Linked DNA regions of Homo sapiens: all the other regions are linked to region 2. The links are contacts of gene promoters, found by promoter capture Hi-C in blood cells and fetal thymus (Javierre and others, 2016). All regions are on one chromosome and are shown on one strand. Each heading gives the region's core, a stretch centred on a gene start or on the middle of the fragment in contact. The rest is flanking DNA. Distances are from core to core; before and after follow the strand shown. Region 1 overlaps TGS1 (trimethylguanosine synthase 1). Region 2 holds the start of MOS (MOS proto-oncogene, serine/threonine kinase). Region 3 overlaps TMEM68 (transmembrane protein 68). Region 4 overlaps TMEM68 (transmembrane protein 68). Region 5 overlaps TGS1 (trimethylguanosine synthase 1).

Region 1 (2,700 bases), core at 55-2,554, 330 kb after region 2:
AGATAACAAAAAATCATTTTATGTATTAGCACACTCAATTAGCATTGGGCTGCACTCCAGCTTGATGGTCTCAGGCAACAGAACAGTAAATCTTATATAGCCAAAATGAAGACTGATAAAGAGAAATCTCTTGTGTGCAAATTCTGCTACAAGAGGGAGAAAGATACCTTTCTAAATAATGAAGGGGATTCCACTCACTACTCCATTCAAATATACTTACGAAAGCTCAGGAGACAGCAAAATGGAGAAAATGAGTAAGCTAAGTTTTATGTTCCTTTCATTGTATGCATATTTTCTTATGCTCGAGGAGCCTAGTGTTATAGGAACTTTATTTGTATAGCATAGCACTGAAACACAAACCAAACATTCCATCCAGTGATCAACTGAAGAAACAGTAATTTGTTCCATCGCCATGAGAGTTAAAGGGTTTCCGAAGGTAACTATGACACTGTACTTGGGCTGACTTTGGCTTCTAACTCCACGCTGTAATTTTCTCTGTGTCTAGGAACACAAAAGGTCTATGTGGAAGGACAAATGCAGTAGGGAAGTTTGAGACATCAAAGTGAGGCTCAATGTACAGTATAAATTATATTTGTTACTTGGGAAAGTTAACCAAGATGACAGTCTCTTTACTTCAGGCAAAAGACTATAGATGTTCACCTGGAATTTTTATCCCGTAGCATTTTTTTATCCTGCAGCATTTACCTACATAATACACTTCTCATGAAGTGTATTATGATTAGAATTTACATATTCTAAATTGGAGATGGAGTCTCACTCTGTTGCCCAGGCTGGAGTGCAGTGGCACAATCTCAGCTCACTGCAAACTCTGCCTCCTGGGTTCAAGGGATTTTCTTGCCTCAGCCTCCTGAGTAGCTGGGATTATAGGTGCCCACCACCATACCTGGATAATTTTTGTATTTTTATTAGAGATGGGGTTTTACCATGTTGGCCAGGCTGGTCTCGTACTCCTGACCTCAAGTGATCTGCTTGCCTTGGCCTCCCAAAATGCTGGGATTATAGGCATGAGCTACCACGTCCAGCCAGAAACCACATATTCCCTACTTTTCAAAGCTTTAAATTCCAGGTTGCTCTTATCTAATGGTGGCAACTCAGGAAGGAACACTACACACAGCAAAAGAGGCTACATTAAGTCAGCACAGGAGCTATAGAAAAATAAAAGATCTGCTTTCATAGAGATTCCAGAACCATGTTATAAAAGAAAATAAAAATTGTCTGATTACAGAATTATTTGGCATTTATATTTTATGCTAACAAATCAATACAATATTATAACAAATTATACATAAATTAACACATTATGGCTAATTTCAGCAAAAAAGGTTTATAGAATTTTATACTATATTACCTGAATTGTTGCCACTGTCTCTGATGTAATAGCCTTTTAATCCCAAATTGTACAATTTTCGATCCCTGCGAAGCAGATTAAGCAGTTCATATTGAAATGAATTAAGCCATCAGTTTAGAGGGAAAGAAATCTCGAGCCATCATAGATTAATTAATAAAAAGCTTATGAAACAGAAAAGCAATCTGCTAATACATTTCCCTCACTTATAATGTAGAGGCAATAATACATTTGTCATGGAGTTGTTGTAAGGACTGATAGTATATGTAAAATATTTAGCACAATGCTTAATACATGGTAGCATTTATTACTATAACTGCTAGTTACTAAAATTAAGGCTGGGCACAGTGGCTCCCACCTGTAATCCCAGCACTTTGGGAGGCTGAAGTGGGCAGATCACCTGAGGTCAGGAGTTTGAGACCAGCCTGGCCAACATGATGAAACCCCATCTCTATCGAAAACACAAATTAGCTGGGCGTGGTGGCAGGCGCCTACAATCCCAGCTACTAGGGAGGCTGAGGCAGGAGAATTGCTTAAATCCGGGAGACAGAGGTTGCAGTGAGCTGAGATCACACCACTGCACTCTAGCCTGGGCGACAAGAGCAAAAATCTATCTCAAAATAAATAAATAAATAAATAAATAAATAAATAAATAAATAAATAAATAAAGTGTAAGTTCTTCTGGACATCTGATATTCCTTATGATACATAAACAATGGGGTGTTCTCTAAATTTTGTTGTGAATAACAGTGGAGAGATTTAGCTTACATACATATAAATCAATATGCAGACACTAATCCATTTGCTAATAAGACAAACTATCCATTGTGAACAGTAGACAAGGTATTCATGGTCTGAGCAAAGGTTACCAAAATAAACCTAACAGAATACTTAAGAAAAAGTGGAAGACTCTGCTTTTAATATCTTCCTGACTATAAATTCAGCTGTAATAAACTCCACTGTAACTGCCACAAGAAGGCCAATTGCAAGTGGAAGCTAACATAACTTTTCTAATGGAGCTACAATAAATTTAACTAAATAAAATTCTAGTGTACTTGCTCTATTTCACATCCTCTTGCTTCTTTTTTGGAGATACTATATTAAATGTAAAGTAGGTGGTGACTCAGCAGGATGATGAACAGGCAAGGGGGTGACGTGCAAATGTGCTTTGGCAGCAACTGGTCCCCAGGAACATGGGCACTGGGGGTGGGAAGCAGGAGCTGCACAGGGGGCATCACTGGTCTGCCCGCCAGCACCTAAAGATATGAGGCACTGAAGTGTCAGGTGGAGGAGAGGACCAGTATGGTTGGTTGCAAGTTGGTTATAATGAGCAA
Region 2 (2,864 bases), core at 213-2,712:
AGTGCTTTAGAAGAAGGGAACTTTACCATTTGATTTTTTAAAATATAGATCCTAACACTTTTGTGTGTGTGTGTTTTCTCATGAATATGGTAATATTATTGGTCCTTTTTCCAAAGATATGGTATGAAATTAATTTTTTGCTTAGAGTCAGGATCTTGCTCCATCATCCAGCCTGGTGTGCAGTGGCACGATCATAGCTCACTATAGCCTCAAACTCCTCAGTTCAAGTCTCCTCCCGCCCCAGCCTCCAAAGTAGCTAGGACTATAGGAGTGCACCACCACACTCAGCTAACTTTATTATTATTTTTTGTAGAGGCAGGTCTCAAATTCTTGGCCTCAAGTGGCCCTTCCACCTTAGCCTCCCAAAGCACTGGTATTATAGGCATAACTCACTGCACTTGGTAGAAAATTAATTTTCATTATAAAAATCAGAAAGAAAGATCTTATTGTCTGATGGCCAATACCCTGAATTTCATTCCAACTTCTGGTTTTCTACATTATATGTAGGTACCAGTGATTTTGTGCCATTTTTATTTCTTCAGATTTTTCCTCTTCTACAATTCTCCCATATGTGTTATTATTTGAAGCCCTGATCACAGCTCTGAATCATTTCTATTCTTTTGTCTCCCCCAACTCTGGTTCAAAACTTCGGTAACTCATTTGCTACGAAGTCTAGAATCTCTCTTGCAAGTGAGCTGACCGGTTGGGCCAAATCGCCTTGGAAGGGAAGGATTGTTAGGAAGTCAGTATGTTGCTAAGATGTCTTGCTAATTTGCTGTGTAAGCTGCATAGAGTGTCAGGGGATTCTCCTTTCCACTGATGAATTTAGGTGTGTGTTATGACCTGTATCAGTGATTCTATTTGGATTGATTAAGGTTGCAATTTTTTATCCATATGAATGTTGCACCTAGTTTTTCCCTGTAATTGGTTAAACAAATGTCTGCTGTTTGCATTTTAACTCTTAGCCAATACCTGCTGGAAGTGATTTAATGCAGCTGGAGAATGACACTAACAATCATTACAGCCTGCAAAGTGTGAAACAATTTCATTGTGCTTTGTGGTCTCTTTAGTCTGAGGACTGATAATGTGCAGCGGATGAGACTTGAAAAAAACGTATTTTATTATAATTTAAGAAATAATGTAAAAGAGGGGTGAGTTCTGAGGCAGCTCCATGCTGTTTGTCTGGCATGAGCTTGTTTTTATAAGAATTCACTTCAAGTGTGGAAGGGAAATGCTTTCATCTGAAAGGGATAGCTGTGCTTCATTCCGGTTTCTCCCTCCATCTGATAAAAACTCTTGCTGAGTGACAGCACAGATGTAGCTCATTTGGAACAAGTGAAGGAAAAGGAGAAAAGGGATGAGGTGGAGCGAAGGAGTAGTCAGTCATGTTTCCAAAGTCCCGCGGTTTCCCCTAGTCTCTTCATTCACTCCAGCGGCCCTGGTGTCCCCCTGCAAAGTGCGATGCCCTCGCCCCTGGCCCTACGCCCCTACCTCCGGAGCGAGTTTTCCCCATCGGTGGACGCGCGGCCCTGCAGCAGTCCCTCAGAGCTACCTGCGAAGCTGCTTCTGGGGGCCACTCTTCCTCGGGCCCCGCGGCTGCCGCGCCGGCTGGCCTGGTGCTCCATTGACTGGGAGCAGGTGTGCTTGCTGCAGAGGCTGGGAGCTGGAGGGTTTGGCTCGGTGTACAAGGCGACTTACCGCGGTGTTCCTGTGGCCATAAAGCAAGTGAACAAGTGCACCAAGAACCGACTAGCATCTCGGCGGAGTTTCTGGGCTGAGCTCAACGTAGCAAGGCTGCGCCACGATAACATCGTGCGCGTGGTGGCTGCCAGCACGCGCACGCCCGCAGGGTCCAATAGCCTAGGGACCATCATCATGGAGTTCGGTGGCAACGTCACTTTACACCAAGTCATCTATGGCGCCGCCGGCCACCCTGAGGGGGACGCAGGGGAGCCTCACTGCCGCACTGGAGGACAGTTAAGTTTGGGAAAGTGTCTCAAGTACTCACTAGATGTTGTGAACGGCCTGCTCTTCCTCCACTCGCAAAGCATTGTGCACTTGGACCTGAAGCCCGCGAACATCTTGATCAGTGAGCAGGATGTCTGTAAAATTAGTGACTTCGGTTGCTCTGAGAAGTTGGAAGATCTGCTGTGCTTCCAGACACCCTCTTACCCTCTAGGAGGCACATACACCCACCGCGCCCCGGAGCTCCTGAAAGGAGAGGGCGTGACGCCTAAAGCCGACATTTATTCCTTTGCCATCACTCTCTGGCAAATGACTACCAAGCAGGCGCCGTATTCGGGGGAGCGGCAGCACATACTGTACGCGGTGGTGGCCTACGACCTGCGCCCGTCCCTCTCCGCTGCCGTCTTCGAGGACTCGCTCCCCGGGCAGCGCCTTGGGGACGTCATCCAGCGCTGCTGGAGACCCAGCGCGGCGCAGAGGCCGAGCGCGCGGCTGCTTTTGGTGGATCTCACCTCTTTGAAAGCTGAACTCGGCTGACTGAAAACCTGGTCAAGATAAGTTTTTGTCTGATTCTATTTGTTTTTAAAGGAAGTGGAGATGTCGAAGAAAACATATTTGTAGGATGGAGTTTTAGAAAATAAAGTTACTAAAAACTCCTTTAGTCTCCAGTGCTTTTTCTAGGACACATTAGCAAAGCTACAAGTCTAGTACCTGTTGTCTCAGTACTGTTAGTAACTAATCTTATTCATATAGTCATGTGCTTTGCTTTCCATTGCTAGTATTTCATTTATTTAAATTTGTTATTGATAAAAGTTTGTCCAAAATAGAACTCCACTGCAGAAATGTCAAAATTTTCTATAAATCCATATATATCCCATACCTACCACATAAATTCCAAC
Region 3 (2,700 bases), core at 142-2,641, 370 kb after region 2:
CTTAATGCTGAATTTTTGTTGAGAGTACATATACACACTGAAGTTCTTCAAATGGGCTTTTAAAAACTTCACAGTGAATTAGCTAGTTTATTGTTTTAAACCATGGTGACAAGGTTTAGAATACATTTACAAACTATCCCAACAATCTTTTTAACTCACCCCAGAAGTTACAGCTTTAAAAATGGATGAAAATATGATATTGAACTAAGATTAACTACCTAAGGAAATAGCATTTGCTTTGGTTTATTTGTCACTTCTTGTTGTTTTTAAAAATATTTTGTAGCGGCCGGGAGCGGTGGCTCATGCCTGTAATCCTAGCACTTTGGGAGGCCGAGGTGGGTGGATCACAAGGTCAGGAGATTGAGACCATCCTGGCTAACGTGGTGAAACCCCGTCTCTACTAAAAATACAAACAAAATTAGCTAGGTGTGGTGGCGGGCACCTATAGTCCCAGCTACTCAGGAGGCTGAGGCAGGAGAATGGCGTGAACCAGGGAGGAGGAGCTTGCAGTGAGCCGAGATCGTGCCACTGCACTCCAGCCTGGGCGACAGAGCGAGACTCCGTCTCAAAAAAAAAAAAAAAAAAAAAAAATTTAGTCTGTCAGTTTGTTTTTATATTACTACCACTTTTATTTAATCCTGGTAAATTTCATGTTTGGTCATTAGTATTAGTAGTTATTTGCTTTGATGTGTTTTTCCTAATTCATAATATTATTTTGTCTTTACCTAGTTTATTTTGCATTATAGTCTCATATTTACATAAATTTATTCTTCCTTTTTTTGGTCTTTTATTTATCTAAGTTACTTATTTGTGAGACTCTATAGACTTTTTCACCTCTAGTAGTTTGGTAGCAGTTTAGCCTTTGTTTTGCAATAATAGTAACTTGTTTGCCTTTTAAAATTACTGTATTTTATTTTTATTTATTCATTGTTTACTTATTTTTGTTTAATTCCTGTACTTTAAAAGCTCATTTTAAAAAATAATTAATAAACTTTTTTGGGGGGCATTTTTATGTTTATAGAAAGTACAGAGAGTTCTCATAAATCTTCTCACCATCCCCTAGTTTCTCCTATTATTAATATCTTGCATTGGTGTGATATATTTGTTAAAATTGATGAAAAGCTCTTCTTTTTAAAAAAATTGTATTAATTGCCAAGAAGTGATACTTTTTGCCACCTTCCTGTAAGTCCTACATAATTAATTTGAAAGTTTACAGTTACATGGTCAGAATACTTAACAAGTTAAAATGATTGTATTTACTCTAAAACAGGGTTATTTAGGTGGCTTTATGAAAAATTCCGCTATCCATTTGCTCCAATGTATGGAGGTTTTCCAGTGAAGTTACGGACCTATTTAGGCGACCCCATTCCGTATGACCCACAGATAACAGCGGAAGAATTAGCTGAAAAGGTAAATTGCTTTTTCTTTTTTAGTTTTAGGACAGATTTTTATTTTCAATTATTATATTTTGAATCTCATTGATTTATTTTTATATTCTACAAGCATGTCTAGGTCAGTGGTTCTCAACCAGAGGTGATTGTATACCCTAGGGAACATTTGCTAATCCCTGGAGACTTATTGTCACTACAGGCAGGAGTTGGGGCCGTGAGGGGAGTGCTACAGACATTTAGTGGGTGGGGGCCAGTGATAGAATTTATGGTAACTTGTAGGATAGGAATATATTCCTATGCATAGGTTTTTGGAAATATTGGACTGGAGTTTGGGAGAAAGTCAGAATTGATGATGGAGATTTCAGTCATTTGCACTGAGACAGTTACTTAAGCCATGAGCTTTACAAGGCAGGTGAGAAAGAAAGAAAAGTGCTGAGAACAGACTTCAGGAGATGTAGCACTGAAGGAGAAGGCCAACGAAGAAGTGCCAGAGCTGACTGAAAGAGAACTGGCAGAGAGGTAAGAGAACAAGTAAATTTGTGTGACAGAAGTCAGCAGGTGAGGTTTTAGTAAAAAGTGGGAATGGTCAGTAATGTTAGTTTTTGCAAAGAGATGAAGGAGGATAAAGAGGAGAAAAGCCTGCCTGCCTCATAATTATACTTTCAGAGAGTATAAAACTACAAAAAAAAAAAAACCCTACAAATGTCATGTTCTCCTTTTTTTCTTTTTTACCCCATTCTTGTTAAATGCAATAAATGTTATGTTAACTGAATCACTTAGAAAATGGGATGAATGGGCCATGCTTGGTGGCTCACACTTGTAATCCCGGCACCTTGGGAGGCTGAGGTAGGAGGATATCATGAAGCCAGGAGGTCAAGGTTACAGTGAACTATGATTGTGCCACTGCACTCCAGCCTGGGCAACAGAGTGAGACACTGTCTCTCAAAAAATAAAATGGGATGATTATATTTTGATTATGACTTTTATATAGTCTTTGGTATATATATAGTCTGATTTATATTTTAAAATATAAATTATGGTAAAAACATTATGGTAAAACATATGGTAAACACATAATATGGTAAAACATAGTAAAACAAATTATGGTAAAAACACATACATGTACTATCTTAACCATTTTTAAGCATACAGTTCAGTACTGTTAAGTACATTCACATTATTGAGCAACAGGTCTCTAGAATTTTTTCATCTTGCAAAACGGACTATACCTGTTGAACACCAACTTCCCATTTCCCCTTCCTCCAGCTCCTAGCAACCACCATTCTACTTTTCTAAGACTTTGACCACT
Region 4 (2,700 bases), core at 129-2,628, 350 kb after region 2:
TCTTCCCAGAATGCCTTATATAACATAGCAACCTCCTCCTTTCCCCTACTCCCGTGCCTGACATAGAACTCCATATTCTTCTTACACTGCTGTTTATCTTTCTCCCTAGCACCTGTCATCATCTGACCTAGCATGTATTTACTAGTTCTTTGTTTACTGTCTATCTTCCCCCTCTAGGATGTAAGTCACTTGAGGTTGTAGACTTTGCTTTATTTGCTGCTGAGGAAATGGGTGGTACATATTAGGGTACATAGGTGCTAAATAGGTCTTTATAGAATGATTTATCATCTTCATTTTCAGAGAAACAATGAGACACAGAGAGGTGTAACTTGCTTAAGATTGTAAAGCCAGTATTCCAGTATGTTCAGTCTGGCTCCTAAGCCCATTCATGTCATCCACTGTGTTCCCGAAACAGACTGAAAGGATAGGCTATGTCTTAGCCCACCTCATGAAAGTTAATAAGCAGATGAGATGTATAATCTTTGCTGGGCTCAAAAAGGTTTTTTTCAAGTGTAGTTTGTAGAGATGTAGAAAATAGTAGCATATTTTTAGCTGAATGAGTCAGTATGATCGAGTTACCAAAAAAGCTGCTGTGATTCTATGAATGATAGCGATAGCAAACATGTAACACTGATTACATGTAAGGTATTCTAGGCTCTTTACACAGATTAGCCCATGTAATCACAGTAATCTCATGAGGTAGTTAGGATTATTATCCTAGTTTTATAGGTTTTAGCAAACGGAGGCACAGGGGTTACCGTACATGGTGTTGTCAGTATCAGATAACTGGAGTCAGCAACTCGGAGTGGTCTTGAGTGCTGAAAGCTTAAGAAACCAGGGGCTGAGAAGTAGTTGAAAGAATTAAGGATTCTGACTGGAGAAGGAATTTTGTGGCTCATGGCAGCTGTTTTTAAACTTACAAGGTTGTTTAATGGAAGAGGGTCTGTGGTACAAAACTAGGTCCAGTAGGGAAAAGTTACGGGGAAGTTAAGTATAAGGAAGACCTTTTTAGTAGTTCTGATGGATGGTTGCTATGTTGCATTCTAAATGATCAAACATGGGTAAATTATAGTGATTTGACTTTTTTTATTTTTATTTTTTGAGACGGAGTTTCACTCTTGTTGTCCAGGCTGGAGTGCAATGGTGCAATCTCGGCTCGCTGCAACCTCCGCCTCCCAGGTTCAAGCGTTTCTCCTGCCTCAGCCTCCCGAGTAGCTGGGACTACAGGCGTGCACCACCACTCCCAGCTAATTTTATATTTTTAGTAGAGATGGAGTTTCACCATGTTGGTCAGGCTGGTCTCAAACCCCCGACCTCAGGTGATCCACCTGCCTTGGCCTCCCAAAGTGCTGGGATTACAAGAGTGAGCCACTGCGCCCAGCTGGTGATTTGACTTTTTATATGGATTGATTAGATGATGATGTAAATAAAGCCCAAGTTGTGGGCTCAATGTTTGCTATGTTCATCTCCTGTAACCATAACAGACCAGATTTCTCACAAGTAAATGCTATTGGTTACAAGGAAGTTAGATGAAATGTTTCATTCCTGGGAGAACAAGTCAGTGCCTGCCCTCCTAATAAGCCAGTTAGCAAGATAATCTTAGAATAAAAACAATACATTTTTCTTATATGTACATCTCCTCCTCTCCTTTCATCCTTTGCTTTCATTTATTCATTTTTTGCCTCAGCTACAAAGGACTTGAGATAATTTTCAGTAAGATTATATAGTATGGAATAATGATAAAATAGTTCTAAGAATACAATCAAAGTATGGAGAAAGGAAATCTTTTGTAGGAAAATATTATCATAGGGCTAATATAATTGTATAATTGAATGTTATGTTTCACCTTCAGGTTATCTGGCAAAGTTACTAAAAAGAATCATAGTCAGTTATATATCTTCATACTTTTTCTCCTAAGAAACAAAGCTTTTGAAAACTTTGTTTAAAATAAATTCTTAGGTGGGGCTCTATATAGTGGCACTAAACAGTGTAGAGTTGTCTTCACCAAAGCAATGGTAGCATGAGTGTACTTTTTAATTGTAATATACCAGTGTGGGCCTATAATCATATTTCTTAAACATTTATGAATGTCTCTTGCTGTTTATTTTATAGAAATGCTAACTCTAGGTATTAATGATTATCTTTTTTTTTCTTAGTAATTTATTTCTTACATTTGTTTACTGTGCTTTCCAGAATAGAGACATTGAAGTTTGGGACAAGATATTTATCTAACTTCTGGTAAGTCCAATGACTGTTTTAGAGAGTGAATTTGTAAAATAATTATACAGCTATATTTTCAGTCATTTAAGATTTAAGATAAAAACAGTACTGATAAATTTTTATTGCATAATGAACTTTTGTAAATCTGTTTCTCTATAAAAAAACAATATCCATTAATGTATGTAATCATTTCGTAAAGAATTGGGTTACTTTTACTGAATTAGGTAGATATTGATGTTTTCTTTTGTGCAGAGTTATCTCAATATGGCTGGGCATGGTGGCTGATGCCTGTAATCTCAGCACTTTGGGAGGCTGAGGTGGGTGGACCACTTGAGGTCAGGAGTTTGGGACCAGCCTGGCCAACATAGTGAAACCCTGTCTCTACTAAAAATACAAAAATTAGCCAGGCATGGTGGCACATGCCTGTAGTCCCAGCTGCTCGGGATGCTGAGGCAGGAGGATTACCTGAACCTGGGAGGC
Region 5 (2,934 bases), core at 352-2,851, 310 kb after region 2:
ACATTTACTGAATTAACTGGACATAAAATAGTTCACTTCCATTGATGGCTAATTACCTCTCATTCCTGTTAAGGCAAACTGAATGGTATTTCCTCCAACTCCACAGAATGCGTCTACTACAACGTCACACTTGAAGGACTGACTAACACGGCCAGCAATGTGTTCAGCAATCTTCTCGGGTGTAACTGAAAACCAGCCCTCTGCAAAGGAAGAGTATTTGTGTTAGCATGTTCAATTTCAAGAAGCCAAGGCAAGCATAAACATAGCAAACATTACTATATCTTACATACTTTTAAAAAGCTTAGTTTCCCTTTTTAAAAAATTATAAATCACCCAGTTTTAAAGAAAAAAATTCAAAGCTTGTTATAAAAAGCAGTACCATTCCCAATTTCCACAGAAATGATGACCTCAATTCTTAACCTAATTCTTTTGTAATACTGTATACCTCCATCTTTCCAATAACTGAATTTACAATTTTGATGTTTCTCTTTGAGGCTTTAACTACTGACTCCTGTGGAAAATAGAGAACTAGCTGCTCTAATTGGCTAGCTCCCCCACACTCCGCTGAGTTTCCCAATTATTTCACTCCTAAGGTTGAAGCAATAGCCTGGATTTGTATTGGACACTCCAGAAAAAACTCCATTTTTTTTTGGAGACAGTGTCTTGCTCTGTTGCCCAGGCTGGAGTGCAACGGCATGATCTTGGCTCATTGCAACTTCCGCCTCCTGGGTTCAAGCAATTCTCATGCTTCAGCCTCCTGAGTAGTTGGGACTACAGGCACACGCTACCATGCCCAGCCAATTTTTGTATTTTTAGGAGAGACAGAGTTTTGCCATGTTAGCCAGGCTGGTCTTGAACTCCTGGCCTCAAGTGATTTGCCTGCCTCAGCCTCCCAAAGTGCTGGGATTACAGGCATGAGCCACCATGCCTGGCCAAAACTGCATGCTTTTAAAGGGTCGGAAAAAGCAAGGAACTGGATGGCAAAAGGCCATAGGGTTGCAGAAGTACAGGAGGAATAGCAGAGCCCTCATCATTGTCAGAAATGAGGTCCTGTGTCCACTCTAGAGTAAAGAGAATACTGACCTCCTTCTTTCCTAGTAGAAAAAATTTACATTTTTCAGAAAGACAATTATCTGAACAAAATGATGTGCTGGGCTGGGCGTGGTGGATCACTTGAGCACAGGAGTTTGAGAGCAGCCTGGGCAACATGGCAAAACCCTGTCTCTACAAAACATTAGCCAAGCATGGTAGTGCTTGCTTGTAATCCCAGCTACTTAGGAGGCGGAGGCATAAGGATTGCTTTAGCCTGGGAGGTGGAGGTTGCTGAGCCAAGATTGTGCCACTGTACTCCAGCGTGGGTGACAGAGTGAGACCCTGTCTAAAAAAAATAAAAAAAAAAAGAAAAGAAAAAATAAAAAGAAAAGAAAAGAAAAATAAATAAATAAAAATAATGTGCGTTAATTTTCCTGTTGTCTCCCCTTACCAAAACTTTAAATGGCTCTTCAATACTGGAAAAATAAGAATATACACTTTTATAGAATTGCAAGTGTTTTCCAGCCTTATTTCTCCTTACAAATTCCTACGTACTTTTTCCAATACACAGCATTTTGCAAATTGTTTTAAAAGGGTCAGAGAACCCCTGAAATTCCATCATAGATCAAGAACTTCTGATTTTGATAGTTAATAAAAACCAATATTTAGGTAACCCCAATATGAAAACGAGCATCAGTCTGCAAGACTGAGTTAAGTAAGCTGTTGCAGATCACAGCAGGAAAGCTGGAGAAAGAATTCAAAATTTGCGAAGTTAATTCATTAAATTGTATCCTTCTGCACTAGATATTTCTTCATCAGGTTTTCTGTTTAATAATTTATCAATTGCTTTTGCTATCTATCCTAACGTGCTACAAATACAGATTAAACCCAAGTCTGAAATTTTAAAAATACACACACACACACACACACCCCCCCAAATTGAAGGGCATCCTATAAAATAAATGGCCATTGATCCTTTGAAAAATGTCAGTCATGAAAGACAAAAAAGGCTAAGGAAACATTCCACATTAAAGGCAACTAAAGAACTTGAAAAATAAACGCAATGATACATGATCCTATACTGGAAGGAAAAAAAAAACGTGATAAAGGACAAGATTAGGACAATTAATGAAATTAGAGTATAAACTGTAGATTAAAATATTGGAACAATGTTAAGTTGATAATTCACTATTTTAAACAAAAATATACTTGTCCTTAGCAAATATACACTAAAGTATTAAGAAGTATGAGCATGATGTGTGTTAAGTACTGATCAGAAAAAGATACACACACATACATATGGAGAGAGAATGAGAACGTAAACGGGGCAAAATGTTGAAAATAGCTGAATCTGGGTAAAGGGGATATGAACATTCCCTGTATTATTCTTATAACTTTCTTTTTAAGTTTGAAGTGGTTTCAAAATAAAGCTAAAAAATACATATATACTTTACCTCTGTCCAACTTAATCCCATCATCAAAACGGGAGAAGAGCCTGTACCTCTGGGCCCAGTATTTTGCCAGCTCAGGAACAGCAGCTATTTCAGGAGGCAGACCATTCACCTTTTTGTTCTTCTTCTTGTTCTTCTTCTTTTTCACTTCAGCTAAAATAAAATACAAAGAATATAGATGCTCACTAAGAAAAAAATTAGTATCACAGGTGAGTTTATCTAAAAATGAAGCCACATCAAATAATTACAAGCAGAACATGTATATAATGACACGCCCAGAGAAACAGGAGAGCCTGATGGAAACGCCACTGGCTTCAATCACCACCAGCATTTTGCTACTTATTGGCTTTGTAAGCTTGGGAAAGTAACCGAGGGTCTTTAAGCTCCATTCATTCATTCATTTATTTATTTATTTAGAGACGAAGTCTGGCTCTGTCACCCATGCTGGAGT

The links. The method cuts DNA at HindIII sites, captures the fragments that hold promoters and counts their contacts. A CHiCAGO score of 5 or more calls a contact.
Region 1: a contact is called between a fragment that was not itself captured here and the fragment with the promoter of MOS in region 2, in 1 of 17 cell types (total B cells). The highest score is 5.5, in total B cells.
Region 3: a fragment that was not itself captured here is called in contact with the fragment with the promoter of MOS in region 2 in 1 of 17 cell types (neutrophils); the score reaches 5.1 in neutrophils.
Region 4: a fragment that was not itself captured here is called in contact with the fragment with the promoter of MOS in region 2 in 2 of 17 cell types (total B cells and neutrophils); the score reaches 6.9 in total B cells.
Region 5: a fragment that was not itself captured here is called in contact with the fragment with the promoter of MOS in region 2 in 1 of 17 cell types (naive B cells); the score reaches 5.6 in naive B cells.

The regions. Positions count from the first base shown.
Region 1 is chr8:55,781,482-55,784,181 of GRCh38, reverse strand. TGS1 (trimethylguanosine synthase 1) reads right to left here. Exons shown (of 13, transcript NM_024831.8): 2 at 1,370-1,434. Among named protein-coding and RNA genes, the nearest start is that of TGS1, 9.4 kb to the right of the region's middle. The HindIII fragment of the contact is 456 bases long and covers 1,077-1,532 here.
Region 2 is chr8:56,112,580-56,115,443 of GRCh38, reverse strand. MOS (MOS proto-oncogene, serine/threonine kinase) reads left to right here and starts at 1,462. Exons shown (of 1, transcript NM_005372.1): 1 at 1,462-2,502. The coding sequence starts at 1,462. The coding sequence ends at 2,502. RefSeq lists an enhancer at 1,583-2,083. The HindIII fragment of the contact is 4,963 bases long and covers 1-2,864 here.
Region 3 is chr8:55,742,191-55,744,890 of GRCh38, reverse strand. TMEM68 (transmembrane protein 68) reads left to right here. Exons shown (of 8, transcript NM_001286657.2): 7 at 1,271-1,410. Among named protein-coding and RNA genes, the nearest start is that of TMEM68, 30 kb to the left of the region's middle. The HindIII fragment of the contact is 6,352 bases long and covers 1-2,700 here.
Region 4 is chr8:55,763,474-55,766,173 of GRCh38, reverse strand. TMEM68 (transmembrane protein 68) reads left to right here. Exons shown (of 8, transcript NM_001286657.2): 2 at 2,194-2,238. Among named protein-coding and RNA genes, the nearest start is that of TMEM68, 8.6 kb to the left of the region's middle. The HindIII fragment of the contact is 1,101 bases long and covers 828-1,928 here.
Region 5 is chr8:55,802,159-55,805,092 of GRCh38, reverse strand. TGS1 (trimethylguanosine synthase 1) reads right to left here. Exons shown (of 13, transcript NM_024831.8): 9 at 2,487-2,636; 10 at 57-200. Among named protein-coding and RNA genes, the nearest start is that of TGS1, 30 kb to the right of the region's middle. The HindIII fragment of the contact is 2,479 bases long and covers 362-2,840 here.